Linked DNA regions of Homo sapiens: region 2 is linked to region 1. Evidence: promoter capture Hi-C in human tissues and cell types (Jung and others, 2019). All regions are on one chromosome and are shown on one strand. Each heading gives the region's core, a stretch centred on a gene start or on the middle of the fragment in contact. The rest is flanking DNA. Distances are from core to core; before and after follow the strand shown.

Region 1 (5,612 bases), core at 1-2,500:
CATCGAAGATCTGTGCCTCTCCCTTGAGACTCTGGGCATGCCAAGTCGAGGAAGGACAGTAATAAATGCATGGACACCCGTGAATTCCGAGAAGCATTGGCTGCAATTTGGGCCTCGGGCCCTCCCAGATCCCAGTTCCTCAACCTGGGCGCTTTACCTGGACCCGGACCTCTGGTAGGTTGACCTTGCCGGCCAGCTCCTCGCGGCTGTACACGTCCGGGTAGTGGGACTTCTCGAACGCGCGCTCCAGCTCATGCAGCTGGTACGTGGTGAAAGTCGTGCGGTTCCGCCGATGCTTTTTCTTGGGCTGTTCCTCCTCTGACAGTTTCGCTTCGCCGGTGGCTGGCCCGACGGGCAGCCCTGGGCTCGGCCGTGCCTCCCCGGGCTCCTTGGGGCAGTAGGGTCGAGGGGCTGGGGCGACGAGGCCCGGGAGGGTCAGATGCACTCCCCAAAACACCCTTGGGCCGACCCCGCCTCGCTGTGGGCACTGGCCAGCCCGCCTGCGGGCTCCGAGATGGCCCGGGGAGGTCCGTGGTGAGGGCGGCGATGGGTCCTAAGCTTTCTCTGAATGCAAATTGGAAGCTCCCGCCATAGACGGTCCCCAACCCCGCGCCCAGTTGCCTTAATAAAAGTTAAGGAAGGGGCGCTCTCGTCTGGCCAACTCCTAAGCTCGGGCGCCCGAACGGCCTCGCACAGCCAGGGGTGCGCACTCACCTTCGTACTCGGGGGCGGGCGCCGGGGCTGGCGGCGGGGAGGGCTCGGAGCCTTCCTCGGGCGCCTTGGGGCAGGCGGGCCGCGCGCCCAGCCTCCTATCCCGCTCCTTCGCGCCCCGGGCGCCCCGCTCCGCCGGGAAGGTGCCGAGGATCCCGTCGTCCTTGGTAAACCCCAGGATGGCCTCGATGCTGTGAAGTCGCGAGGTGCTCCCGCCCGGGCTGCGGAGCAGGTGGCCGGCAAGCGAGAAGCTCCCGTCGGCCATGGCTGGCGCGCAGCCCGGCAGGTGCATGGGGAGCGCCGGGAGGCGGGAGGGCGCTTTGGAGACGGAGAGGAGAGGCTCGAAGCCGGGTCTTCCCGAGTGCGGCGGTGCAACCCGACGGGTCCCGACCCTAGGTCAAGCTCCGCGGGCGAAGCCCGCCCGGGCTGCGCACGCTGGGGGTGGCCGAGCGCTCAGCCCGCTGCCGCCTTAGTCCCAGAAGTCGGAAGTTCGGGCTCGGGGTAGCTGGGGCTCTCGGCGCTAAAGGCGGGGAGCCAACTGGCCCTCGGCTCCTCCCCTCTCGCCCTGGACCCAGCCCCTTCTCTCGGCCCCTCCCTCCACAGAGGGGCGTGTCCTCACCCGGCCCAGCCACAGGGTCCTCTAGTGGCCACCCCTGGGCCGGCACTAGGAATATTCCCCTTCCACCTCTTGATCCGTTTTAAGCTTTACAAACACACTCCGGGGATCCGCGGCGGGATGCCTGATGGGCTCGGGAACCTGGTCGCGGCGCACCCCTAGTCCTGCCTCAGTGGGGCCGACGCCCTTGGGCTCATCTCTCCCCTTGCGTTTGTCTCCCTCTACTTCGGGCTTACCCTCTCACTTCAGACTACCCCCTGGGGGTCACCTCCCTCCTTGGACGCACCCCTCCCCAGCTTCAGACTCGCCCCTCTAGCCCCCTCTGGCTCACCTCCGCGGGGCCGCCACCCTGGCCTGTGCCCCCTGGAAGCGCCGAGACCCAGCCGAAGGCTTCCCAGCCCCGCACTCGTCGCAGTTTGAATTTCCCCTCGCTGGCTCCCTTTTCGGGACCCACTCCTTTCTTGGCTGGGTTGTACGAAGTCCCGGACCTCGCGTTTAGTTTGTCCGTCTATATCTGTTGTAACTCCTCCCAGTCCCCTCGGACTTGAGCGCCGGCAGCCTCCCTCCTTCCCCGCAGCGCCCACCCCAGGGCCATTTATGTCCGCAAGTCCGGTGACCTCTAGCGCCCGATCGCCCAGCAGGAGACTGGGAGCCCCGAGTCGGATGTGCTGCCGGGCTCAGGTCCCGCAGGAGACCCACCTGGAGTTCCTCGCTCCCGCCCCTTGTCCTGCGGGGAGGGCGGGCTCCTTTACTGATGAGCAGCGGTGTCGCACTCCCGCCTCCCTCCAACACTCCGGGCCAAGGAGATGGCCCAGAGCTGGCTGGGGAAGGACCTTCTCCCGGGGAAGAGGCCTCTCGCCTCCCCGAGGGTTCAGGAGTAATTGGCTTGCAGTTCTTTCTCCTTTGGACCCCCTCGAGGCTTCCGTGGCCCACAGTGACTGATCGGCCACTTGGAAAGATGATTGGATAGGGTGAGTGTGTTTCACCTCCAGCAGCGCGGATGGACAATGGCGCTGTGAACGTCTCACCCCTCAAATCTGAGGCGAGACCCGAGGCGAGCGCTTGGCCTTCCCTGAACTGGTGGCCTGAACCGTGAATTAAAATGCTTTCCTATAAAAGCTCAAGGACCTAGAGGACAATATCCCTAAAATCTCCTTTTCAGTAGGCGCTCTGATCTCCACAGCAGGGGTGTCTTCTTTATCCCGCTTGCGTTCAGACAAGCGTTTGCTGCGTCCCTTTAGAGGGCAAGGCAACCGTCGAGGGCCACGTCGTGGGCATCAAACAAATTGGGAAAGGCCAGGGCCGTTGGCCTGGTGGAGTTTAACGTCCAGTCTGGAAGACAAGACAAAGGAAGAGGGAAAACACACATCCTCAGATCCCCAACCTTTAAATTGGTGTTAGAAGGATGTTTGCGGAGGACAAGTCAATTTCTTAAGGATCATTCAATGGTTAATTCCCCATGATGGGCATATCTACTTTTAATAAAACTATATAATGGCAAACTAAAATAAGGGCAAGCATGTGACTGCAGGAGATAGAAATTGAACTAATTCAAGTCAGAAATTATCTTTTAAGAAAAAAGCTAAAATTAATGAAAGTTAATAGCACTTTACAGTGTTCACATATTACTTTATTTACTTATTATTTATTTGTCTGTTTATTTTAGAGACAGGGTCCCTCTCTGTTGCCCAGGCTGGAGTGCAGTGGCATGATGGTGGCTCACTGCAGCCTGGAACTCCTGGGCTCAAGCAATTCTCTCGACATGTCACTTTGTAGGTTTCAGAATCTTCTCACATTCTTCATGTCATCTGATCTTCACAACCTTGTGAGGTGAGCAGGACAGACATATTGGTCCCCATTTTACAGAAGAGGAAACTGAGGCTCAAAGTGATACAGCTATTAAGTGGAAGGGTCAGGACTAGAACTCAGGCCACTGACTCCTTGTCCAGTGTTTTCTGCCTGCAGCTCATTTGTAATTATTATTGTAGTGTGTGATCTTTTTGAAAAGAATCAAAGCCCATCTTAGCCTGCAGTCTGTCTTTAATCCTTCCCTGAGACTGGATTCTGCATCTAAGAGGCGGAGGTAGAAGCAGTTTAGCTCCCAGAAGAAATAAAGTCAGAGCCTATAGAGAGTGGGCTTTGGGTACCGGCATCCAGGGCAAATTAACAAACCCTCTGGAAAGTCCCCTGACAGACCAGGTTTTGCCTCCTCCTCCGCCCCTCCTCCACCTTTCCAGGGCCCACAAATGGCCTGGTGGCACCCGAAAAGGTCTGACTGCCAGTGACATAGACCAGGTGGCTGACGTGCTGAGGTGGTGGTGATCAGAGGGCAGCTGTGGGGATAATTAATTGGTATTTGTTGTTCCCCCTCTGACCGAGAATGCTTTTTATGCAAACTTCCCCAATATTAAATTGATCTCGATAATCACCGCTAAACAAAGATTGGCAGCGTTTCCTTAAGCTCCTGCCCACACGCTGCTAAGGGGTTTATGGCCTTGTTTTCCAAAGTTAATTCCTCTGGAACTGCCCAGCTCCTCCTAATAAGTCCAGGTGAGGTTAGCTTTTATTTACTGTTTGTTTCAGAGTCTGGGGAAAAAAGCAGAAAAGACTTCAACAGCCACTGGCGAGGGCAGGGGTGGTGGTGATGGGGGTGGGGGAGACAGGGCAGAGGAGGACAAGGGGGAGTTGGGGCTTCCTTTGTGCAGGACATAAAGAGCTAGTCAGTACCATTGTGGGCACGGTGGAGGGTACTCCAAGCAATCAGCCGGGGGTCATTGTTAGGGGCTAATCTACGTGTGTATTTCCCAAGAACTCGATTAGGGAAGATGAATGGACTGGGCCATGTCCCTAATTCTTCTAGCATGAAGCTGCATTTTTCCAGCAGTTAGGCTAGCTCATAATCAGCCCTGCTTCAGCAACAGTAAGGAGCCTGGCTTCTGAACCCCACCTCTGATTAATTCATTAATTCATTAGATGGATCAAAGAAAACCCCTCCTTCCATCCCCCACCTGCGGCCAACCTTAGACACAGCTAAAGCCCCATTAAACTTCGGATGGTTGGGAGACACACATTTCCAAACGTGAGGAAGTTGTAGTATAAAGCGACTCCTTGATCGTGGCTGTATGGAGAAGGTCCAATTTCTGGAAGTATTCTGGATGAACAGTCTCACCTACAACACGGGGGAGACATGCATATCCCTGTGCACTGGACGGAGAAGGAGAGGGAGAGCGGTGAATTAAGGACATTCAGCCACAGTCTCTAGTCATTTCACCTCTCAGCGATGTTTTACATTAGGGTGAAAATGTCTGTGGAAAGGCCTATGATATATCAATTCGTAAAGTGTATCAAATAAACTTGATTGTCTGCATGTAGATTTTCCCCATAGCAGATGTATTTTAATCCTGGAATAACTCCCCCTGTGTCACGCCATATTCGAGGACCTCCTCCTCCCACTAGCTGATACACGTGCAAGAAAGGCAACTTACTTTTAGTTTTAGCCAGAGCAAAACACAACTCATATAATCACTAAACACGCACACACACCATACACACACACTGAAGTTCAACAAATTCAGTTGTCAAGAGTTAAGAATACATACAAGAGCTACTATTTATTGAATGCTAAGTACATGTCAGTGGGTATATGCCATAAGCTTTTGAGTATTATTTTACATGAATTGCCCAATTTAGTTCTTACGATAATCCTATGATGTAGATGCTGCTATTATTATTATTATTAGAGACAGAGTCTGGCTCTGTTGCCCAGGCTGGAGTGCAGTAACATGATCACAGCTCACTGCAGCCTCAACCTCTTGGGCTCAAGTATCCTCCCACCTCAGCTTCCTGCAAAGCTGGGACTACAGGTGCAGGCCATCACATCCAGCTAATTTTTGTATTTTTTTGTAGAGATGGGTTTTCGCCATGTTGCCCAGGCTGGTCTTTAACTCCTGGGCTCAAGCAATGTTCCTGCCTTAACCTCCAAAAATGCTGGGATTACAGGCTTGAGCCACCGCACCTGGCCAGTAGACACTATTATTATCCCTACTTTACAGATGAGGAAACTGAAATACAGAGAGGTTCTGTAGCATGTCCAAGGTCACACAGCTGGTTTCAAGTAGAGCCAGGATCTGAACCTAGGTGTTTTACTCAGGAATGCTTCCTTCTGCCCACCATGTGTGCTACCCCCAACACGGTATGTGTATTAACATGCACCATTAATTCTCCAGTGGCCATAAGAGAACCAGCAGATAAATTAAAGCAAGAAAATTTGGGAGTCAAAGGTAAC
Region 2 (5,237 bases), core at 2,283-4,782, 36 kb after region 1:
TTTGACAACTAGAGGAAATCGACATAATCTGGATATGTGTACACGAACATTATAATGACTGGTATAGATACATATACATATACATACTTACTGCAGATTACTGCAATTTGATTACTGCCCTTATTTAATTACTTATCTGATTACCAAAATTAACAATGGTCACCAAAAGACATTGGTATAGCAAATAGTATTGTCACTAACAATTAATAAACTTGAGACCCAAGACCTTTTATTGTTTATCTAGAGGGCTATGGCTTATGTTGCTCCTTTTCAAAGAGTCTACATTTGCTTTTCCCTGTCAGCAATAGAGTGAAACTCTTTTTCAGAGGAAACACCAGCCAAATAATTTCTTTAGAAAATACAGTTCTAATTCCAAAATGTGACATAGTTATCCTCATTAGACCTGACAGCTCCCGGGAAGACATTTTCTCAAATCTGCTCCCCGTCGGGCCTTGGTCAGGGGAAGGGTCTAGAACTGAATCCTGCTGTTATGTAACCGCTGTGGTGGTGACCCTGGGGAATTGTGAATGAGGCACCCAGGGGGTCATCCCTCATTAGCTGGAGGACATGTTAAATTCGTCCAATTCCCTGTGGGCTGTTAATACTATTACTATGAATGCTTACCCAATATGGGCTTTAGAAGATGGCACAGGTTAAGTATTCTGCAAACCTGGCAGGGAGGGGACGGTTATTAGGAACCCACTAGAGTCCCAGTGACCCCTGCTTTCTGTCTTGTGCCGTTTTCTTTGTCAGACAGTCTGTTCAGTTCTAAAGTCTACCACCAGGAATCTGATGCCCAGTTTAGAGGGATATGAGGAGAAGGGGGCACGAAAAAGTCCTGGATGAAGAGTAAGGAGGCTTGAGTCTCCATTTGTCACAGCAAGCTTTGTGACCTTCGGAACGTCCCTACATTTACATGATCCTTATGGTTATGTATTGAGTGCACACATATGGTATGTGCTTTTCCGGATGTAAAAAAATAAGTCTATTGAAAAGAGAAACAGCACTCAGACACTGGTGTCGAGGAGCCAAAGTACTGTGGTCATCCAGGAACCTGAACCTGTTCTAGGAAAAGAACTTAGAAGGTTGGAGGGAAGTGATGGTTGGCATGTTCCTCAGATGACCTTGGAAGCCAAGCCCCAAAGAGGGGACTTATAAGGACTTGGGAATCTGTTGCTCTGTTTCCCTCCGAATACAGCAGTTCCTTTGGTTCAGCCCTCGGTCAGCCCTCCCCTGGCCTCAGTAAGAGCCAGCACTGGCAGGCCTGCCTCTCCTCTCCTTCCCTCCAGTTCTTTGGACAGAGCACCATGCCTTGGGCTTGTCAATCACATCTCTTAGTGACCCAGATGGGCACTGTCTGGCCTTCCAGGGTCTCCTTGCTCCTTAATGAAGCATCTAGGAGACAAAACCCTACACCTCGCATCCCCACTGTGTTTTTCTGATTTTTTTTTTTTTTTTGAAATGGAGTCTTGCTCTGTCGCCCAGGCTGGAGTGCAGTGGCCCAATCTCGGCTCACTGCAGCCTCTGCATCCCGGGTTCCAGCAATTCCCCTGCCTTAGCCTCCTGGGTAGCTGGGATTACAGGGGTCCGCCACCATGGCCGGCTAATTTTTTTTGCCCGGCTAATTTTTTTTTTTTTGTATTTGTAGTAGAGACGGGGTTTCACCATGTTGGCCAGGCTGGTTTTGAACTCTTGACCTCAGGTGATCCGCCCGCCTCGGCCTCTCAATGTGCTGGGATTACAGGCGTGAGCCACCGCGTCCGGCCTCTCTCTAAGGATGGCTTTCTAAAGGTTCCATTACGGAGTTTCCTCTGCGTAATCAGAGACAGACTTTAGGTACCTACAGTTCAATAACAACCAGCAGCTAAGCCACTGGGTAAGTTGGCTGAATTCAGTATTAGAATAAAAAGCATGGCACTGGAGGCCTGGGGCATGATTCTGCCCCCCATAAGCTTCATTTATTCAGTCATCTCTCAAGGCCGAAGATTCCAATTCCTTCAGCCCGCCCTCGATTGCTGTCGTTTCAGAATCTCTCTGCAGCCTGGTCACTGCGGAGACAGCGGAAACTCGGCTGTTTGCGAGCTCCCTCTCCCGTTATGCCATGGGAGGATAGAAAACGCACGATCTGGTCCTTAATAACAAAATAGTAAGGCTTTTTTTTTTTCCTTTTCTTTCTTTCTTTGTTGTTGTTTTGTTTTCCCCCCCATCCCATCCAATGACCTATCAAGACTTTTTTTTTTTTTTTTTTTAAGTCACCTCTAGAAATTGGTTTCTGCCCCTCCCTGGTCCTGCCACCACCCGCAGCCCGGGTTCCGCCTCCCGCGGGTGCCAGTGGCCGCGGCGCTAGGAACACCAGGGGGCGCCGGCGTCGAGGATTCGGGGCCCGCGCTGGCGACCGCTGCGCCCTCCTTGCTCCAGCCAGGATCTGGCTTGGACGGGAGCGGCTGTTCTGCATAGCCTGGGCAGACGTTAGCCTGGGAAACGTGTCTGTCCCCCGCAGCCTCTTTTTCGCCACATGGGCCATCGAAGGGTCCCTGTACCCAGAGCCTCGTCAGTGCGGGGACGCGGGCGGGAGGGTAACGTGCGACAAGTGACAGCGCGGGAGGCAGAGGAGGCGCCCAAGGGTGGGGCTGGTTTGCAAGCGCAAAGTGTTGCACTGGGGTAGGGGAAGTTAGCCACAGCTGGTGATAACTGGACTAAGTGGAATACGATCCAGCTGATTTTTTAAACTTTTAAATTTTAGTTTTTAAACTGCTCCTTGCAGAGCAGGGCAGTCTGCCCAGAGTAGCCGATTTTTCTTATCATATAGTTTTATTAGGTGCTATTTTTATAGCTAGCTACACGGGATTAGAATTTCCATGTGCTTTACAAAAAGCAGGCAATTGTATTATTGGTATTTGTAGTATCTTCCATACCATAGGCACGGTTTTGAAACATTGTGTGTAGAATCCATTGTTACAAATGCAACCAAATATAAAAACGCCCTTGGAGGAGGGGGTCCCCACCTGGAAGTAAACTGCAATGAATGATGGTGTGTACAATGTTCTCAAGTGAAATTCTTATCTGTTTGTTTGGATTGTATTTGGAATTTAGACAGCTACTTGCAGATCTAGGGTCAAACCGTTAGACAACACAGGAGAAATAATATGCTCCCATTTTTTTAAGCCACGTGGAATTCAAAACTGCCCTAAAATTTTGGGGAACAGCTCAAAATATTAAGAGTAGAAAGAGGCCGGGCGCAGTGGCTCACGCCTATAATCCCAGCACTTAGGGAGGCCGAGGTGGGCGGATCACAAGGTCAGGAGATCGAGACCATCCTGGTTAACACGGTGAAACCCCGTGTCTACTAAAAATACAAAAAATTAGCCAGGAGTGGTGGTGGGCGCCTGTAGTCCCAGCTACTCGGGAGACTGAGGCAGGAGAATGGGGTGAACCCAGGAGGCAGAGCTTGCAGTGAGGGGAGATCATGCCACTGCACTCCAGCCTGGGTGACAGAGTGAGACTCTGTGTCAAAAAAAAAAAAAAAAAAAAGAAAAAGAAAAAAAGAGTAGAAAGAACAAATGCCTTGAAAGGAGGAGCCCTGTTGAAGTCCTTTTGTGAACAAGCTGCTCTTTTTCATGGTTGTGGGGCCTGAGTTCCAGTCCTAAGTCTGTCACAGGAGATGTGGCTTATTGCAAAGCTACTTAACCCTCCTGGGCTGCAGTTATCTCAGGTGTAAAATGACGCAGTGGTATGAGATTATTAGATGAGCTTTATGGTCTCTTTCATGGTCTATGAGAAAATCAGGTGGGGTCTCAAATGCATTATGCATTTGAAACAGCTGTAGAAAAGGGGCTATATGAACATCAGTAAGCCATGCAATGAAAGACACTGGTGGGCTCTACTGTTATTTATCAACATCCTTCATGTCGGTCCCTCCCCCTAGCTGGCTTTAGAGAGCAGTAGCCTATGCAGGTATAGCCACAATCATTCTCCAGAGAGGACCTGGATTTGTGCATTTCATGGCTATCATTTTTTCCTCTTTCCATAGTTTCTGTTGGAAAGGCTCTTGTTTCAAAAGATACCCTGGCACAGAGATTTAAGAATTATTTTTCTTGGAAGAGTACTTAAACCTTACTGCTAAGCCTAAGGGTGTTCACCCCTGAAGATCTGGAAGTCAGCAAGACTGCTGATTTACCATTAGTGGAGAAACAGATAAAAGGCTTGGGGCCTTGAGGCTCAGGAACCTCCATTGTTGCATTGATTACACACCTAAGGACTGGCGGTCCTCAAGACCCCTGGTTGTTATTATCAGGAAATAAGACTTTTGTGCCCAGAGATCATAATGTCAATAATAAGAGCTCTATTGTCAGGCGTTGTACTAGGTCCTTTATATTACATTATCTCAGACAAAGATCCTATGAAGTTAGGTACTTCAGCCCTCATTTTATAGATGAGGATACTGAGGCTCAGATTTTTTTTTCTATTGCTGCTGCATAAATTAAGAGACTCAGATATTTTTAAAAACCATGTGATATTGCATCACAGAGCTACAACGGAACCCCAATTCTCCCTAGATCCCTACAGAAGAATAACAGTTGCCAAAAATAAATCTGTAAAAAGCCCTACATTCTGGACGATGCACACCCAGCCAATCGTGTGTGTGTGTGTGTGTGTGTGTGTGTGTGTGTGTGTGTGTGTGAAATTTCTGCTTCATCCCAACAAGTTGATGATGCTTTAATCAGATGGCCCAAGAGCAGAGGCCAGGGGCTTCAGCGCAGTAGCATGAATCCGACTCAATCTTCCTGCCTAGGGCGAGACCACATTGCTAAAGTGAGCCAATGACATCCAGGGAGTTTCAGGAAATTCACCAGACAATGAAAGTGGAAAGGACAGTGTTTAGAAGTGCTTCACTCTTCCAAAATGCAAGCACAGTGAGGAAAAGTTATTAAACCTGAACGGGGCTGGGGGTAGGAAAAGCAAGGCATTCTTTTCCAAGTTCATTGGTTGTGAATGAAATGAGCTTACATTTTATTGTGGGTTTTCCTTCCCTTATTAAGAACAGAACCCAGGTTCCTTGGGCACCTTAGGGATCAACCTCTACCATGTTTAAGTCTTTGGTGATTTCATCAGTGACCTTGCATAGACAGTGGCTTCTCCCTTGTCTAGTGCTTGTAGTTTCTAAAATCAGCTTTTTCTGGGATCTGCTGGGGATCCATGGAAGGAATTGGTTTAGCAGCACTTTCTAGACCACCCAG

The links. Contacts are between HindIII fragments. The study calls those that stand out against the background at their distance.
Region 2: a contact is called between a fragment that was not itself captured here and the fragment with the promoter of RAX in region 1, in 3 of the 25 tissues and cell types used here (H1 embryonic stem cells, lymphoblastoid cells and mesendoderm cells).

What each region holds. Positions count from the first base shown.
Region 1 is chr18:59,272,204-59,277,815 of GRCh38, forward strand. It overlaps RAX (retina and anterior neural fold homeobox), which reads right to left and starts at 1,251. Exons shown (of 3, transcript NM_013435.3): 1 at 715-1,251; 2 at 158-411. The coding sequence starts at 1,003. The HindIII fragment of the contact is 4,384 bases long and covers 987-5,370 here.
Region 2 is chr18:59,306,312-59,311,548 of GRCh38, forward strand. The region is part of intron 2 of CPLX4 (complexin 4); the gene reads right to left. Among named protein-coding and RNA genes, the nearest start is that of CPLX4, 9.7 kb to the right of the region's middle. RefSeq lists silencers at 2,380-2,449, 2,500-2,549, 2,590-2,649. The HindIII fragment of the contact is 4,229 bases long and covers 1,419-5,237 here.